4 separate regions of the Homo sapiens genome follow, and all the other regions are linked to region 4. Evidence: promoter capture Hi-C in 16 types of primary human blood cells and fetal thymus (Javierre and others, 2016). All regions are on one chromosome and are shown on one strand. Each heading gives the region's core, a stretch centred on a gene start or on the middle of the fragment in contact. The rest is flanking DNA. Distances are from core to core; before and after follow the strand shown.

Evidence for each region. Contacts are between HindIII fragments. The CHiCAGO score rates a contact against its expected background, and 5 or more counts as called.
Region 1: a contact is called between a fragment that was not itself captured here and the fragment with the promoter of BLACE in region 4, in 2 of 17 cell types (neutrophils and total CD8 T cells). The highest score is 6.8, in neutrophils.
Region 2: a fragment that was not itself captured here is called in contact with the fragment with the promoter of BLACE in region 4 in 7 of 17 cell types (total CD8 T cells, activated CD4 T cells, non-activated CD4 T cells and 4 more); the score reaches 8.5 in total CD8 T cells.
Region 3: a contact is called between a fragment that was not itself captured here and the fragment with the promoter of BLACE in region 4, in 8 of 17 cell types (neutrophils, M2 macrophages, activated CD4 T cells and 5 more). The highest score is 8.0, in neutrophils.

Annotation. Positions count from the first base shown.
Region 1 is chr7:155,142,162-155,144,861 of GRCh38, forward strand. No RefSeq gene overlaps it. Among named protein-coding and RNA genes, the nearest start is that of HTR5A-AS1, 72 kb to the left of the region's middle. The HindIII fragment of the contact is 3,447 bases long and covers 1-2,700 here.
Region 2 is chr7:155,160,124-155,162,823 of GRCh38, forward strand. No RefSeq gene overlaps it. Among named protein-coding and RNA genes, the nearest start is that of HTR5A-AS1, 90 kb to the left of the region's middle. The HindIII fragment of the contact is 161 bases long and covers 1,203-1,363 here.
Region 3 is chr7:155,176,845-155,179,544 of GRCh38, forward strand. No RefSeq gene overlaps it. Among named protein-coding and RNA genes, the nearest start is that of HTR5A-AS1, 110 kb to the left of the region's middle. The HindIII fragment of the contact is 2,884 bases long and covers 1-2,700 here.
Region 4 is chr7:155,366,613-155,369,312 of GRCh38, forward strand. It overlaps BLACE (B cell acute lymphoblastic leukemia expressed), which reads right to left and starts at 1,321. Exons shown (of 6, transcript NR_103545.1): 1 at 1,197-1,321. The region is part of intron 2 of LOC105375593 (a long non-coding RNA gene); the gene reads left to right. The HindIII fragment of the contact is 7,901 bases long and covers 1-2,700 here.

The DNA of each region.
Region 1 (2,700 bases), core at 176-2,675, 220 kb before region 4:
CTAGGACACGATTTAATGGCATACTGATCTTTGTGATGTTTCTACTCCTAATACTTAGGAATAAGTGCATGTGGGGTCCAACATGCAGAACTGTGTCTCCTTCCCTGCGGATGTGCATGCACCTGCACACACACACACACGCACACACACATGCGTGTTCATGCACAGGCACAGACACACACGCACACACACATGCACACAGTGCATACACACACATGCATGTACACACACACACATGCGTGTATACACACACACTCATACACACTTGGCCAGAGGCATAAAAATAGTAAGTAACTGCCGAAGATACCACAGCTGGTCAATTTAACTGGTGTCTCACAAATTGTAACAATATGAAAAGTGTGGCTCTTTGGGTAGTTTTGCTATTGGATAGCATAAGAAAGTTACAGGGAGAATTTTAATGTGTGCCCCTACGCATGATTTCTGAGAAGGCAACATTCAGACCCTCGGAACTTTTGGCCAAACTCAGCCTTTCCACACCTGCTGCCTGGGTTCTCCCTGACTACGGGTTGTTAACACCCTCCCGGGCTCCCAGGCAACTGTGTCCATGTCAGTGCATGTCAGTGCTCTCCAGATCTGTGTTCTGTCTGTCCCCTCAAAGTCGGGGACTCCTTTCCTAAGGCTGCCCTGACATACCCTTGGGGTCAGAGGAGTAGGGAAAGGGCTCTCTGATCAGCCTGGTGGAGCTGCTCTCTGGCTCAATGTCTTAATAACAAGAAAACCTCCTCAAGTTACAGAAATTCAGCAGAAATTCTAAATTGTTCCTCACCCTCACTTTATTGTAGCAAAAGACCCCTCAAAATTCTGCACATTTCACCTGGTTTACATCAAATATAATCCACTTGGTGTAGCCCTAAGTGTTTTCATTGACCCCACAGACACGCAGTAAGAGCTGAGTGTGTGAAGAGCAGTCTCTGATCTTCATGCCCAGGCTTGGTACAAAGTTTCTGACTTCCAGGGACTGGTCTTGCAGAGCACAGGGCATGAAGGCGTGCTGCCTGTGTCTGCCGTAACAAGTCCTCCTGAAGGCGTTCCACAGCCTTACCTGTGCTAGGAATTACAATTTTACTTAATAAAAAACAAGTGATTGGATGAATTATTAATTGAATGAGTGAATGATGCCTGTCATTATGCTAAATATTTTACACAAAATATCCATTTACTTCCTTACAAAGCATCTGAGAAAGAGGCCAATTTGTTCCCATTTTATTGATTGGACCCAGAGTAATTGTCGAAGATGATGTGGCTGGTCGGTTTAACTGGTGTCTTAAAAATTGTAACAGAAATGAAGTGTGGCTCTTACGGAAGTTTTGCTGTAGGGGCACAGTATGGTGAGCCCAGTGGGACAGTCTTCTGCAGAGGCAGACGACCCCACCCAAAACATGCTTCAGGTGACATCACACACAGAAGGGCGAGGAAAGTTTATGACTCCCGTAACTGAGGACTCTGGGAAGAGCTGGCCGGCCTCTAGCTCGTGTAAAAAGGCTTGGAAGTAGGGACAAGAGACTGGCCTGGGTTTCACTGTGGTTAGGAAGTGTTTGATGTAGACTTTATTATTATTCAGGTCAGAACTAGGAACGGCTGCCATTGGAAAGCTGGTGTGTTACTCACAGATCCCTAGAGGAGGGGTCCGGCCACGCCATGGGGGCCACCTGGGGATGTGCCAGGGTTGGTCGGGATGCTGAGGGGCAGGGAAAGTGAGAAGGAGCTTCTATTGTGGTTTCCACGATAAGGGAGGCTGAGGCAGGGTCAGCAGGCCCAGGACTGCCCAGCTTGAATAATTCTAGCCCTCTGGGGACAGCAGTTGCCCTGGGTCTGGTCCCTGCCCTGGGGTAACAAGTGTGGGTGGACAGCGGCCGGGAGTGTGAGCCCACAGAGGAGGTGGCAGGTGTGGGCTCCTCCTTTGCACATGGATTGCAGGGTTTGCACATGGAAAGCCTGTGTGGGGTGGGCGATGGTTCACTATCTGGGAATTGGCTGATTGTGAGAGGAGCAGCTCCCCAGGGTCAGCAGGGCCCCAGCTATCAGAGTATCATATACAGAAAATGAGAGACAATTCATACTGATGGTGGGCTGGGGCTAGAGTTCCTAATGGGAGAGATTTGTGGGGTTTTAATCTCCCACTAGTGCCAGAGGAGGGAAACACCCCCCACCCCTGGCTTTCTCAACAGCTGCCCAGATGTGGGGTGAAGGGGAGGAGGGAGAAACATCAATGCTGTCAGCAGCTGAATATGAAAGAGTGGGGTCAGACTGCTGCTCACCACACTGGGGGAAAGAGCCAAGTCTCAGGCTGAATGCTGAAGGACCTCCCCAGTTCTGGCAGGAAGCACGGACTCCTGGTCTGCAGACCCCGAGAGATGTCCGGCTGCCCGTGCACCCTCAGCCCCTTCTGACCACCTGGCAGGTGCTGCCTGCAGCTAGCTACATGCTGGTTCTGAGGATCTCCACCAGAGCAGGAGAGCTGGAGGCATCCTCTAGCAAGCCACGTGTTTTGGATGCCTGCATCCACCCCTGAAAGGGACATTAAAATGAGGGTGTCCAGGAAGCACCCAGGCGTTGGGAGTAAGAGCATCTGGAATTATCTTTGTTTCCTTGTGGTAACTGATTGCCATGTCTATTAGTTCATTTTTATGCTGCTATAAAGATACTATCTGAGTCTGGGTAACGTATAAACAAAAGAAG
Region 2 (2,700 bases), core at 33-2,532, 210 kb before region 4:
CGTATATACATATGTATATACGTATATACATACACATACATATATACATACACATACATACATGTACACATATGTATAGATTGATAAATACGGATATCTATCCCTCTATATATCTATATCTATAATTCAAAGTGATCATTACAATGTTGACTGTCTCTCTCTCAGTTCTGTTATAATTTGATTATTGCAGAAGGAAAAAGCACACACATCTAGAGATAGACAAGAGTACATTGTTCCCCTGAGGAGCATATTTTGGCTTTAAAATCTCCAATAACAATAACAGTCATGAAATATTGTGCTGCCTGAGAGTCATCATTGTAATGATCACTTTGAATTATTTTTTGTTCTACATTTACAAGAGTAAGATTACTATTTCAAATTATTTGAATATTTTGTGGGCTTTTATATAATAAATAGTCTGTCCCAAAATTATATTGGTATATACTACTAATAGTCATACATAAGCGTGCCAATTTCATTGCAATTCCACCAAATTTTGGTAGTATAATTTTTATTTGTGCAACATAACAGGTATGAAACTACATTTTATAGTTAAAATATAGGTAACTATGTCCTATATTTTAATTTTCACCATCTGAATTACTAGACTTTCTATCATTTTCCTTGCATTAATTCACAATTTGTCTAGGATAACCCAGGGTCCCCTTCCTTTTATTCTACCAACTTTTGTCCCTCAATACAGGATACCTGGAGCAAGATTTTACTTCTGTTTGGTTTCTGCTGGAAAACCTAGTTTGGAACTGAAGAACTTCAGTCTTAAAACATCAGCTGTTTGCCTGACCTGTTAAGGAGACTATTCTCACCTTTAACTTATCTTGGAAATCTCCCGCCTTTGTTGGGTTCTTTTATTGAGTTCATCTATCTAACCTATTCCTAACTCCCCCTCCCTTGGCTCCCAGGCCACAGAATCTCAGAGTTGGAAGCAGCCATAAGAGCCACATTCTCCAGACTCTCAGCCCAAGCAGCCATCCCCATTGTGTGCCCATGGACTTAGTCAACCAGCATTGGTGCAAATGACCAAGATCTCAAAGTTAAGATTAGTCAAAAATGGCTTTCTAGCCATTCTCTATGCATGGAACTCCAGTCTGCTTGTGTCTCTAGGCACCCTCTTCCTTGTGGACTTAGGATCTCCCATTTTAATGAGACTTCTTATATAAATAACATTTCTAAAGTATCAGTGAAGCTTTCAACCACTAGGTTATCATAGATATGTCCTATCTTCCCTCAAAGTGGCTGTCTCTAGTCCATTGTAATAATTTGTAATAAATAAATGTAATGGGATCATCTATTGGATAGAAGAACTTTCTATTGTGGAGATGAATTATTAATGCAGAAATCCACAAGCTTCTAAAACCTAGCACTGGCTTGGGCAAAGGTATTGTCTCTATGTGAACACCTTTAAAAATAGAAAAGAAATCAGTCAGTGCCTCTCAAATTGATTAATGTATACTAATACCCATTCCTCCAGAATTTATGATAGTGACTCTGTTATATGGGAAAAGTATTACTATCCCATAAGATACTGAAATGAACACCTACATTTATATCAAACACACTTGAAATAAACTGCTCAGTAGCACATCAGGGCTGCACAGGTCAATGCTGCCTGCGGTGAGGTTAGACCAGCTTCCCTCCCAATGGTGGAACACATCACAGATGTCAAGGGAGAGGCAGGAACTCAGGGGAAGAAGACCTGATCCAGACAGCTCCCATGTGCTACAGACTTTTTCATCACATCCCGCACAACTCATGTCCTTGTCTCATCTTTATGACCTATGATGACACCTGGGCCATATCCCACAAACACAAAACACTCCTGACTCAGAAGCTGACGGCCAGTGTTTACTCAAGTGGCAAGAAAGGCTTTGTGTTGAAAAATCGCAGAAGGAAGCCATCTCCTTGGAGGCTCATGCATCGCCTTAACAAGAAGAGTGTTGTTCATATACATTTTCTTGATCAGCCCAGGATCCTCTAATGTTTTTTGAATGTCTAACATGTACCAGTTCAAAGGAAAAACTTCTAGCTTCAGAGAGAAAGATCAGAAAGAATTCAGAAGTTTTCTCTGAAAACAGGATTCTCAGTGTCCTCACCTTTTCAATGTCATACAACTTCAGACACACAGACACATGCACATATGCACACACAGATACACACACACACACACACACATCTTTGCTCAGAAAAATCGAACTCAGTTTATTTGAGATCCATCTACTTTGCTTGAACTACTAATGACTAATGCAAGGAACTCAGAATAGGCAGACAGTACCTCTAGCAAAGCCCTCTTGTAATGAAAGGGCAGCATTCTAAGACATACATGAAACAACACAGTCTAACTATCTAGTCATTCTCTGTATGAAGAACACTGACCACATGTTAAAACTGTTCCTATCCATTCCTGTTCTTCTTGGTTATTCAAATAACTTTGGCTTTAAGACTTTTTTTAAGTGACTTAACAACTTATTAGCTTATTTTCCTGAGGCTAACATGCTGAGCTTGCAAATACAATTTTAAAAGGAGCAATAATTGAATGATTGAATAGAATATTCCCTTCTGTTTTATATGGATTGCAAAGTTTTTGGTATTGAATAGTAGATTCAATAGTAAAAATTAAAAATTCAATATTCAAAAATTATATTTGAATATTCAAAACTATCAAATAGTTTTTAATAGTTTTGA
Region 3 (2,700 bases), core at 140-2,639, 190 kb before region 4:
ACTTAACATTATACTAGAGATTCTATTCAGTGAAATAAGGGAAGAAATGGTAATAAAAGGCCTAAAAAATGGGACAAAAGAAGTAAAATTTGTAATGTCATTATTCACAAATGACATCATTGCACATGCAGAAACTCCAAAAGAATCTATAGACTATTAGAATCAATAAGTGAATTTAGCAAGGTGTTATGGTTTAATATGTCTGTCAAGAAGCATGTATTGAAAATTTAATCTTTAATGCAACAGTGTTAAGAAATGGGACATTTAAAGAGGTGGTTAAGCCACGAGAGCAGAGCCCTCATGGATTAATGCCATTATTGAGGGATGGGTTTATTATTGTGGGGTGGGTTCTTTATAAAAGAAAGAGTTATCTCCACCCCCCACCCTCTCTTGCCTTATGCCACAGAATGACACAGCAAGAAGGCCCTGCCAGATGTCAGCCACTTGACATTGGACTTCTTAGCCTCCAGAACTGTGGGAAATAAGATGGTTTTCTTTACAAGTTACCTAGTCTCTGGTATTCTTTTATAGCAGCATGAAATGGATTAAGAAACAAGGTTACTAAATAAAAGGCCATATATGATAATCAGTTGTATTTCTGTATACTAGCAAAATGAGTAGAAAATAAATAAAATGCACACAAAGCAGAATAAGAAACTTCAAATACCTAGGAATAAATCTAGTTAAAGATATGCAAAATACATACACTGAAAACTACAAAACATTACTGAAATTAAATAAGACCCAATAAATAGAGAGATATACCATGTTCATGGATTGGAAGACTCAATATTATACATATGTCAAAGCTCCCAATATTGACTTACCAACTCAGTGCAATACCAATAAAAAGCCTAGACATTTGTTTGTCTGTTTAACTCACAGGCTGATTCTAAAGTGTCTATGGACATCTAAAAGACCAAAAATAGTGAAGTCAGTCTTGAAGAAGTAGAACCAACCTGGAGGGTCTGCTTGACCAGATGCCAAGACCTATTTCAGAACTGTAGTGATAAAGACATTGTGGTGCTGACAAAGGATAGTAACTAGACTGGTGACTAAAATGCAGAGTCCAGGAGCAGAACTGTGTCAGTTGCCTATCGCTGTGTGACAAACTTCCTCACTACTTATCTGGGTCAGAAATTCAGAACAACAACAGGGGCAGTCCACTTTGCTCCACAATGCCTGGTCCTTCCCTGCAATAGTCCAAACATCAGAGAATTGGCTGGAACAACTAACGGCAATGATGTATCTAGGGCTTCAGTTCTTGATGTCAGTTTTTCTCTTCACTTCTCTGGGTGGCTAATCTGGGATGCCTCCTAGCGTGATGTTCCCAGGGCAGTCAGACTTTTCATGCAACAGCTGCTTTCCCCTACCATAAAAGTGGAAGCTACCAGATGTCTTGAGGCCTGGCCCACAATAGGAACAGCAGCACCCACATCCAAGCTCTGTTGTCAAGATAGGCTATAATCCTGCTTGGAGTCAGGGAGAAGTGAAATGGTGAGAGAGCCTTCCTGTCCTGATGAGTGGGGTGCATGTATGTGCAGAGTGGCCATCTCAGAAGACCATCTGCCACAGCCCTATATTTGTGCAGGCACCTATTTTGTGGCAGAGGTAACACTACAATGCAGTAGAGAAAAGATGGCTTTTTCGATAAATGATGCTGGGTCAAATGGACATCCAAAGGAAAAAACAAAATAAATTTTGACCTCTACTTTACACACTATTAAAAAATCAATTATAGAAGGATTGTGGATCTAAGTATAAAAGATGAAATAGTAATATAATTAGAAGAAAGCCTAGGGCAATTCCTTTCTGTTGTTGGAACAGGCAAATATTTCTTAAGCAGGACACACAAAATACTGATCATGAAGGAAAAAGATGATAAATTGAACTACATTCAAATTAGGAACCTCTGATTATAGAAAAGGAACATTAAGAAAGAAAAAAGACAAGCCACAGAGTAAGGGAAGATATTGCAACACATACAGGGCTGATATTGAGAACATACATATATTTTAATGGTCTATAAATCAATAAGGAAATGGTAAGGAAACCAATATAAAAATTGAGAAATAAGAACTTCATAAAAGAGTATATTCAAATGGCCAATACACATATGAAAAATTGTTCAACTTCATTAGCCATCAGAGACATGCAAATTAAAACCACAGTGAGATACCATTTTACAACCAGCAGAATGGTAAAATGAAAAAGACAGACAAAACGTTTGTGAAGAATTTAGAACATTCATCCACTACTACTGGGTATGAATTGCTACAGTCACTTTGGAAAATTGTTTAGCAGTATCTACTAAGGCTGAACACACATAAACCTCTGCCTGAGTAGTTTCACTCCTAGGTGTACATCCAATAGCAAAATGCATAAATATATTCACCAAAACACATGTATAGGAATTGCACAGCAGCACCATCCCTAATAGGCCAAAACAGGAAAAAAAAAATCAAATGGTTAGAACAATAGAATGGATAAATAAACTGTGGTACTGTCTATTCATGCAATGGACTATTCTGCAGCAACACAAGCAAATGAAGTACTGAGACACACCACATCGTGGATGAGTCCCAAAGACATATGAGCAGAAGGAGCCAAATATTTAAAAAGTACACTTTCTATTATTTTACTTAGATAAAGTCCAAAATCAGGCCACACCAATCTATGTTTGGTGTGTCCTGACAGACA
Region 4 (2,700 bases), core at 71-2,570:
GGTCGTGGCCGGGCAGAGGGGCTCCTCACTTCCCAGTAGGGGCGGCCGGGCAGAAGCGCCCCTCACCTCCCGGACGGGGCGGCTGGCCGGGCGGGGGGCTGACCCCCGCCACCTCCCTCCCGGACGGGGCGGCTGGCCGGGCAGAGGGGCTCCTCACTTCCCAGTAGGGGCGGCCGGGCAGAGGCGCCCCTCACCTCCCGGACGGGGCGGCTGGCCGGGCGGGGGGCTGACCCCCCCACCTCCCTCCCGGACGGGGCGGCTGGCCGGGCAGAGGGGCTCCTCACTTCCCAGTAGGGGCGGCCGGGCAGAGGCGCCCCTCACCTCCCGGACGGGGCGGCTGGCCGGGCGGGGGGCTGACCCCCCCACCTCCCTCCCGGACGGGGCGGCTGGCCGGGCAGAGGGGCTCCTCACTTCCCAGTAGGGGCGGCCGGGCAGAGGCGCCCCTCACCTCCCGGACGGGGCGGCTGGCCGGGCGGGGGGCTGATCCCCCCACCTCCCTCCCGGACGGGGCGGCTGGCCGGGCGGGGGGCTGACCCCCCACCTCCCTCCCGGACGGGGCGGCTGGCCGGGCAGAGGGGCTCCTCACTTCCCAGTAGGGGCGGCCGGGCAGAGGCGCCCCTCACCTCCCGGACGGGGTGGCTGGCCGGGCGGGGGGCTGATCCCCCCACCTCCCTCCCGGACGGGGCGGCTGGCCGGGCGGGGGGCTGACCCCCCACCTCCCTCCCGGACGAGGCGGCTGGCCGGGCAGAGGGGCTCCTCACTTCCCAGTAGGGGCAGCCGGGCAGAGGCGCCCCTCACCTCCCGGACGGGGCGGCTGGCCAGGCGGGGGGCTGATCCCCCCACCTCCCTCCCGGACGGGGCGGCTGGCCGGGCGGGGGGCTGACCCCCCACCTCCCTCCCGGACGGGGCGGCTGGCCGGGCAGAGGAGTCCTCACTTCCCAGTAGGGGCGGCCGGGTAGAGGCGCCCCTCACCTCCCGGACGGGGCGGCTGGCCAGGCGGGGGGCTGATCCCCCCACCTCCCTCCCGGACGGGGCGGCTGGCCGGGCAGGGGGCTGACCCCCCTCCCCCCTCCCGGACTGGGTGGCTGGCCGGGCGGGGGGCTGACCCCCCCACCTCCCTCCTGGACGGGGCGACTGGCCGGGCAGAGGGGCTCCTCACTTCCCAGTAGGGGCGGCCGGGCAGAGGAGCCCCTCACCTCCCGGACGGGGCGGCTGGCCGGGCGGGGGGCTGACCCCCCCCACCTCCCCCCCGGACGGGGTGGCTGCCGGGCGGAGACGCTCCTCACTTCCCAGACGGGGTGGCTGCTGGACGGAGGGGCTCCTCACTTCTCAGACGGGGTGGTTGCCAGGCAGAGGTGCTCCCCACCTCTCAGACGATGGGCGGCCAGGCAGAGACGCTCCTCACTTTCCAGACGGGGTGGCGGCCGGGCAGAGGCTGCAATCTCGGCTCTTTGGGAGGCCAAGGCAGGCGGCTGGGAGGTGTAGGTTGTAGTGAGCCGAGATCACGCCGCTGCACTCCAGCCTGGGCACCATTGAGCACTGAGTGAACGAGACTCCGTCTGCAATCCCAGCACCTCGGAAGGCCGAGGCTGGCGGATCACTCGCGGTTAGGAGCTGGAGACCAGCCCGGCCAACACAGCGAAACCCCGTCTCCACCAAAAAAAAACGAAAACCAGTCAGGCGTGGCGGCGCGTGCCTGCAATCACAGGCACTCGGCAGGCTGAGGCAGGAGAATCAGGCAGGGAGGTTGCAGTGAGCCGAGATCGCAGCAGTACAGTCCAGCTTCGGCTCGGCATCAGAGGGAGACCGTGGAAGGAGACCGTGGGGAGAGGTAGAGGTAGAGGTAGAGGTAGAGGTTAGAGGTTAGAGGTTAGAGGTTAGAGGTAGAGGTAGAGGTAGAGGTAGAGGTAGAGGTAGAGGTAGAGGTAGACGTAGAGGTATCCTTTAATCTTTCTAGGACAGGTACAGTGGCTCATGCCTGTAATCCCAGCACTTTGGGAGGCCGAGGTGGGAGGATCACTGGAGGCAGGCGGATCACTGGAGCCAAGGAGTTCAAGACCAACCAGGGCAACATAGTGAGACCTTGTCTCTACAAGAAGTTTAAAAAATTAGCCAAGCATGGCGGCGCATGCCTGTAGTCCCAGCTACTTGGGAGGATGAAGCTAGAGGATTGCTTGAGCCCAGAAGGCAGAGGCTGCAGTGAGCAGTGATCACACCACTGCACTCCAGCCTGGGCGACAGAGCAAGCTCCTATCTCAAAAAAAAAAAAAAAAACAGATAATCTTTCTAGGACTTGATTTCCCAGGCTCCATAATGGCAATCTGCGCAGGCAGCTTCTGGCTCTGAGTCTTCCTGTTTCTGTGGTGCCACTGCCAGCACAGGGAGGTCATTCTGTATCATGTCACTTGCTTGGTGTTTTACACCCATGGATGATGAAACAGCAACTGCAGCCTGGAGTGCTGGGAGGCAGAGAGAGTCTCGCTTCCCAGGCCATCTGGCTTACTGTGAAGGCCAGAAGCAGCACAGCCTCTCTTGGTCACCAGGGATCAGGACTCAGGTGGAGAGGGTGGGGCAGGGGCTGGCAGTGGAGACAGGTCCACACTGGGAACCAGCTGTGCCAGGCAGTGTGGCCCTGAAGCCCCTAAGGTGTGTCAAGAGGGGTCTTTCAGGAAATGGTTAGAGAGTGCAGGTGTTGTGTTT